Linked DNA regions of Homo sapiens: region 2 is linked to region 1. Evidence: promoter capture Hi-C in human tissues and cell types (Jung and others, 2019). All regions are on one chromosome and are shown on one strand. The core of a region is centred on a gene start or on the middle of the fragment in contact, and the rest is flanking DNA. Distances in the headings are between cores, read along the strand shown.

Region 1 (3,768 bases), core at 338-2,837:
AAATTTTAACAATGGGATGGTAGCAAACATTTATGGATTAAGAGCAGCCAGCCGGCACCAAGAGCCCTCGTGGACCTTGAGCCCTGTCAGTGCTTGTTCACGGCCAGGCGTCCCCACACTCTTCCTTCTGCCTGGGCCCCCACCTCCCAACCTGGCCAGCTCTTATGCAGCCCCTGTCACCTCAGTTCAGACCTCACCTCTTCGCAGCTCTCCCAGAGTGCCCTAGAAGGGGCGGCTGCCCCTCGCGATGTGCAGCTTACCTGTGGGCACTCTCTCTTTGCCCCTCACATTGAACTCCTGGAAGCGGGGACTGTGCTCCAATTGCCACAGGGGCCTGAAGCAGTCCCCCAGCTCTGAGCACCATGGACCCCACCCTGGCACCTGCTCCTCACTCCCTCCTGCCCTTCTGGCCATTGGAGGGTCTCGGGTCTGCCTGCTGGAGGCTGAGCTCCTTGGGGCGGGGCCGCGACTCCCCCAGCAATGCAGATCCGGATTCAACCACTGCGTATGAACTCCTACCATGTGCCAGCCCTGTGCTGGGCAGTGCTGCAAACTCCACTGCAGCCTCCAACAGCCTGGGGTGCCTACTTTGCTGACTCTATTTAATGGCTGGGGAAACTGAGGTAGAGAGAGGTAACATGACTTACCCGAGGTCCCTCAGCCAGGGCAGAGCAGAGCAGAGCAGGGACTCTGGGCTAGGGCCATAGGGGCATCTTTCAGTGAAACCATTAGGCCCTAGAGTCCTGAGAGTGTGGGGGACTGGGTGGGGGTCCCTTCCACACATATAAACACACTCACAGACCCACAGATGTACACAGATGGAGACACGCGGAGGGATATACGCACATCTATTCATGACACAAAAATTCATAGATGCACGCCCTTCCTACACAGACACACACACGAACACACATACACATACATGCCAACTCTGAGCCTGTGAGCCCAGGGTCCTGGGCTTAAGTCAGTACATAGGTGCAATGTGGGGCTCCGGGCCTGTCTCCTACACCAGAAGGCCCAGGTGGGGTACCGGGTGTGGAGGGGGCAGCATGTCCAGTCCTGCGAGGCAGGGGTAGGGTGGCCTCTCCCTTCCTCCTGTCCCTGCCACCTGAATCCCAGGCCACCAACCACCCAGCACTGATGCTGTGCCTGTCCACACACCTGGTGTCACCCTGCGTGGTCCCTCCCCTCCCCAGCTCTGTGGGCCCCTCACCTTCTGCTCACTGATCACCCTCTGGCCGATGAGGCCCTGCAGGCCTGGCCTCGGAGCAGGGTAGGTGGCTCAGGCTGCAGGGAGCCAGGCCCAGCTCTTAGGGTGGACACTGTCACTAGGTCATTTATAGATCCCGGTCCCCTGTCCTGGAGGCCCCCGCTTACCTTTGGGAGCGGCAGATAGGTGCCGGGCCTGCACACAGGCCTCAGGAGCCTCTGTTTGTCCAGGCCAAGGCCTCCCCACCCCCACCCAGCCAGCCCAGGCTGGATCAATGGCCTAGAGCCATGACCAGGGTGTCTGGCCCTTGTCCCCTGTGGCCTGTGGCCTCAGGCTCCATGGAACTCCTCCTGCTGGGTCCTGGACAGCACTGTGACTAAGTACAGGTAAACAGGCAGGAGGTAGGAGAAGGCAGTGCCTGCCCCGCCCCATCTTCCCCCACCCCCGCATGGGCACCCCAGAGGCTGGCAGGCAGGTGCGGGAGATCTGAGCTCTCCCCCGAGGCCCGTTGCCTGGTGACATGCCTGCCTGGTTACAGCCCCTGGTCCCCGAGAGCATGAGGTAGGGACAGCCAAGGACTGGGGACTGTGCAGAGGCCGGTGCAGGTGAGTGCAGGGGCTCACAAGGGTGAGTCCAGGTGCTTACCTGGACAGGCGAGACTAAAGGAGCTGCTGGCCTGAGAGAGAGAAAAGGAGGCTGGGCCCATATACTCTGGGGACTGGAGAGGAGAAAGGGGAGGCAGGGGTGGGGTTTGATGCTATTTTCTGTTTAGCTGGGAATTATTTGAATTCCTACCTCGTTCTTTTTTTTTTTTTTTTTTTTTTTTAAGATGGAGTCTCACTCCGTCACCCAGGCTAGAGTGCAGTGGTGTGATTTCGGCTCACTGCAACCTCCGCCTCCCGGGTTCAAGCAATTCTCCTGCCTCAGCCTCCCAGGTAGCTGGGATTACAGCGCCCACCACCATGCCCGGCTAATTTTCATAATTTTAGAAGAGATGGGGTTTCACCATGTTAGCCAGGCTGGTCTCGAACTCCTGACCTCAAGTGATTCCACCCACCTCGACCTCCCAAAACGCTAGGATTACAGGCATGAGCGACCGCACGCAGCATGAATTCCTACCTGGTTCCGTAGCGCTGTGCTGTCCATGACGGTAGCCGCTGGTCACCCGTGGCTCTTGAGTCAGTCTGAACTGAGAAAAGCTGCACGGGGGAGACGCACACCAGGTTTCCAAGGCCAAGTGCAAACAGGATGTCAACCAACGCGATAACAATTTTTATATTGATTTTATGTTGAAATAACACTGGTGATCATGGGATAAATAAAATGTATTATTAAAAGCAATTTTCTTCTGGCTCTCTTGTTTTTTTTTTTTTCAGAGACAGGGTCTCATTAGGTTGCCAGGCTGGTCTGGAGCTCCTGGGCCCACATGATCCTCCTGCTTCAGCCTCCCAAGTAGCTGGGATTACAGGCGCGGGCCACCACACCCCTTGTTGCATGTGGATATTAGACAGGTTAAGTCACAAGTGTGACCTGCGTTGTTGTTCTATGGAACAGCGTTGCTGTGGAGATGGGTTTGAGCCATATGCGTGCCGAAGTGCCGGATGGGAGCCAGGGCTTTCTAGGGTGCGTGCAGGGCAGCGGGCGTCTGTCTCAGACAAGGCTGACTTTCAGCGAGTCTACATCCTGAGGCCAGAATGCGGGGTGCACGCCTGAGATGCTGTGTGCTGTGGGCATATGGGTCCCAGAGTGTGTGTGTAAGAGAGACAGTCTGGAATTTGTGTGTGTAGATTATGTATGTGTAGAATGTGCGTGTGTGTGTGTGTGTGTGTGTGTGGAGCGTAGGGATTGTGTGTGGGGTATAAGATTTGTGTGAGAGGTGTGTCTGTGAGGTTTGTATGGTGTGGGGTGGGGGGTGTGTGAAGTGTGTTGTGTGGGCATATGGACTGTGCATGTGTGTGCAGTGTGGGTGCTGGGAATGTGCAGTGTAAGGTGTGTGTGTCTTTGAGGTACGTATGGTGTGAGGTGTGTATGGAGCATGAGAGGTGTGTGCAGCTGTGTGTGTGTGTGTGTGCATGCTCACAGTATGTGTGGAATATGAGGCATGTGTTTAGTGTGAGGTGTGTGCATAGTGTGAGGTGTGTGTGTAGTGTAAGGTGTATGTAGTGTGAAGCATGTGTGGAGTGTGAAGCGTGTGTGTAGTGTGAGACGTGTGTGGAGTGTGAGGTGTGTGTGGAGCGTGAGGCATGTGTGGAGTGTGAGGCGTGTGAGTGGAGTGTGCAGCGGGTGTGAAGTGTGAGATGCTTATGGATTGGCTGGGATGGGACAGGGCCCCGCGCCCGGGCTTTGCCGTGACCGCCGGTTTTCAGCCCTACCTGGCTCCCTTTTAGTTGTAGGAACCTGGGCAGATTCCCTGACTTCTGAGCGGTGCTTCTTCCATCTGTCGAATGAAAAAAATTCGCCCCTTCTTGATGAACGGGAAACAACGTGTGCGAAGGCCCAGCACTGTGGGGGGCGCCGAGAGCGGGTTTCTCCTCTTCTCATGGTGACACGCTGGTGTG
Region 2 (3,640 bases), core at 979-3,478, 520 kb before region 1:
GTAAGCCTGAGCCTAGTTGTCAGCGCTGACATCTATCTCTTCCTCCTCCCTGCAGGCTCCATCCATCAGGGCGTCCTGTCTGTATTAGATCCTTAGTGTCTCAAACTTGCCTGATGTCTCTGAGACAGCACCGCCCACTACCAGGCCACCATCCCTGCTCCCTGGATGGCTGCCGCGGCCTCCCCACTCATCAGTTTGCACCCACTCTTATCCTTCTCTACAGAGCTATGACAGTGATCCTTTGTACATGCAAATCTGATCATGCCACCTCCAGCTCGGAAACACTCCAGCTTCCCAGTGCTGTCGGGGAAAAGCTCAACATCTCTAACAAAGCCTGACCCCCAACCTCCACATCTGGCCTCACCTCCCACCCACCTCCTCCCTCCCTGTGCATCTCTGCCTTCTTTCCTGCCATGCTCCCTCCTACCTCAGGACCGTGGCACATGCATGCTGGTCCTGCTGCCTGAACTCCCACCACGTCCTCTGTTGCCTCTTTCTCCTAACCTCCTTCTGCCTCCCTGCACTGTGCTACTGGGGTGTCCTCCACTAGCTGGCTAGTGCTGGCTGCTCTATGTTGGGGGGAGATATATTTTTTTTTTTTGAGACGGTGTCTTGCTCTGTCACCCAGGCTGGAGTGCAGTGGCACAATCTCGGCTCACTGCAAGCTCCGCCTCCCGGGTTCACGCCATTCTCCTGCCTCAGCCTCCAGAGTAGCTGGAACTACAGGCGCCCGCCACTACGCCCGGCTAATTTTTTTTTTTGTATTATTTGTAGAGACGGGGTTTCACTGTGGTCTCGATCTCCTGACCTCGTGATCCGCCTGCTTCGGCCTCCCAAAGTGCTGGGATTACAGGCGTGAGCCACCGCGCCCGGCCTAAGGGGGGAGATATTAAAGCCTGTATGATACTAGTGGGAATGTTCTAGTAGAGAGGGAAGAAGGGAGGGGCTGGGGGCAGTGGCTCAGCCTTAGCTTTAGGAAGCTGAGGCAGGAGGATCCCTTGAACCCAGCAGTTCAAGACCAGCCTGGGCAACATAGCAAGACCCTATATCTACAAAAAATAAAAACAAATTAGCCAGATGTGGTGGTATGTGTCTGTGGTCCTAGCTTACTTGGGAGTCTGAGGCAGGAGGATCCCTTGAACCCAGGTGTTCGAGGCTGCAGTGAGCTAGGATAGCACCACTGCACTCCAGTCTGGTGACAGAGCAAGACTCTGTCTTGAAAATAAAATCAAAATAAAAAAGTAAAAGAAAGGAGGACAGAAGGGATGACCTGCAGAGATGGGGGAGCAATACAGGTGCACTGTGCAAGGAGATGAGGCCCAGGACACAGCACAAGGGGGGTGGTGCTGTGCCAGGAGGGACAGCAGAGCTCGTGGGTGCAGTGCTGGGGATGGGCAGACATGGTGGGAGGGTGTAACACTTCTCTTCTGTTGCTTCTATTTTCCCAACGAAATGGGAAGCAGGATCATCAACTGAGAGTGAGGAAGGGTTGGGGACGGGAGGACAGGGGAAGGGAAGCGAGAGTGGGAGACAGTGGACCAGGCTGTGAAGTGTGTGTGTCAGTGGCTTGAAGGTCACTTCTGAGATTCTGTGGTTTTCTCTGGCCACATTTGTGGCATGGGTGCAGTTAGCTGGAGAGTTGCGTCTAACCAGGAGGAGGTTTGTGAGGTGAGTGCAACAGGGAGAGGGTGGAATGGGAGGGATTATGAGGATGGATATGGAGTCTAAGCTGGGTAAACAGGGAAATGAGGTCCTGAAGGGCAAGTGAGGCAGTGCAAAGGCGGGGGTGGGGGGTGGAGCGGGGAGGGCAGTCAATGCTTTTGAGCCTGGGGTTGGGGTGGGGTCAAAGCATTGTTGAAATGGGGGTGCATGGGAGTGAGCTGCAACGGTGGCACGTGGTAGCCAGAGAGTGGGATGCAAAAGACAGAGAGTGGAGGGGGTGTGGATATTGGAAATGCCAAGGGCAAGGGTAAGACCCCGAATGAGGTGGCTTGGGGCAGGCAGAGGTAGGGATGATCTTCAAGTATGCACTGGAAAGGTCACACAAATTAATAGATAAGGCAAAACTACAACATTCGCTGTTGTTTTCTATATACATCGAGTATATATTAAGAAACTGCCTACCCGGTTAAAATTTGAAGTGCAAATGATTCATCAAATTATTCTAATAAGCCCCAAATCACCGATTGGTTTTTAGAAATGAGTGGTGTGATCTTTTGATGATGAGGCTGTTATGAGCTAAATGATGGCTTGACTGGACCATGCTTTGACACAGGAAACCACACCAGATGCTCCCCAAGCTTCCCTGTTAGAGTAAGGGTCATTCCACCTCGGCGAGTGCAGAATCTTCTCCTAAGTTGTCCTCTACGGTTCGACTAGAGGACCTCTCTGTGCCCAGCAGCCCCAGGAGGTCAGGGCCGGGAATGGGAAGGTAGTGGGAGGCTGTGAGAGGGGTAGAGGCTCTCATCGGCAGGGCAGTGGTGTGCGCCCAGCCCAGCCCAGTCCCACCAGTCAGGACCAGTAGGGAGACTCTTCTTCTCTTGCCCCCATCCTTGGGGCGGGCCTTGGAGTTTATAGAACCTGAGAACAGAGCTGAGTCCTTAACCCAGCCTTGGGGAGCGAGGAGAGGAGATGGAGCCTTGGTCCCAGCCCTTCTCTTCTCTCTGCCCCGCCCAATGCAGGAGCCACCCCTTCCCCCAGCCAGCTTCCCTGACATAGTAAGACTGATCGGTACAACAGTATTTCAATATTTAACAACCAGTGAGGCAGCACCGGCACATCAGGTTGGAGTGAAGGGGTCACGGCCAGGGACTGGAGGGGCTGATTTCCTGGTTGTGGAATCTGCAAGGATGATAACGGGAGCAGCATTGGAGGCAAAGGCAGTGAGCCAGCGCTCAGCTCCCCAAAGACTGAATGGCGGCGGCCATGAGGGAGTCGGACAGGTAGGCTGGGATGTGTTTCACAGAGGCAGGGAGTTTAGGGAGGAGGCAGGGAAATGGACCGGAAATGTCGATGAGGCCCAGGGAGGCCTGGGATGTGAGCAGTAAAACACTCTCGACAGTGAGAGTTTGCAGGGGCGGTGGTGTCCTTCGGGGAAAGCCAGATTTCCATTAGAGCAAGGACAGAATGGGGGGATTCTGCTGGCACTGTGACCTAAATTCTAGAAGGTGCCATGGCAAGGATTTAGGAGGGCGGGGGAGTTAGAGATCCAGCCAGATCAGAGGACACACAGCCCTGAGGGACAAGTGATGAGTAGGGAGGAGTGATGGGGTAAACTGGGATACAGGTCACTGTGCGATTGGTCCCAACGCCTCTGGTGGCCATGAGGCTGTGAGGGTCAGCTGGAGGAGCACAGGGTCTCCAGGAGCACTTGGAGCTCGGTGGGCCCTGGATTCAGTCTGATTAATGGTGGTGCTGGGGAGAGGTATAGGAGGGGAGGGGGCACTAGCAGCACTCAAGCATTAGTGGTGAAATTTGAACTTCATAGGACATCTACGTCAACAGACATCACTCCAGTAAGGGGAGAGTGGTGAGTGGTGATGAAATGAATGAGATTTCATTTCCCTAAGGCCAGCCTAGGGTTCCATTGTATTTCCTTCTGGTTGGTGGTAATCCACCCCAGGGGTTGTGATGGCTTCAG

What was found. Contacts are between HindIII fragments. The study calls those that stand out against the background at their distance.
Region 2: a contact is called between a fragment that was not itself captured here and the fragment with the promoter of TMPRSS6 in region 1, in 1 of the 25 tissues and cell types used here (dorsolateral prefrontal cortex).

What each region holds. Positions count from the first base shown.
Region 1 is chr22:37,108,126-37,111,893 of GRCh38, forward strand. It overlaps TMPRSS6 (transmembrane serine protease 6), which reads right to left and starts at 1,588. Exons shown (of 18, transcript NM_001374504.1): 1 at 1,378-1,588. RefSeq lists an enhancer at 1-319. The HindIII fragment of the contact is 35,568 bases long and covers 1-3,768 here.
Region 2 is chr22:36,590,454-36,594,093 of GRCh38, forward strand. All of the region lies in intron 1 of CACNG2 (calcium voltage-gated channel auxiliary subunit gamma 2), which reads right to left. Among named protein-coding and RNA genes, the nearest start is that of EIF3D, 63 kb to the left of the region's middle. The HindIII fragment of the contact is 7,923 bases long and covers 1-3,640 here.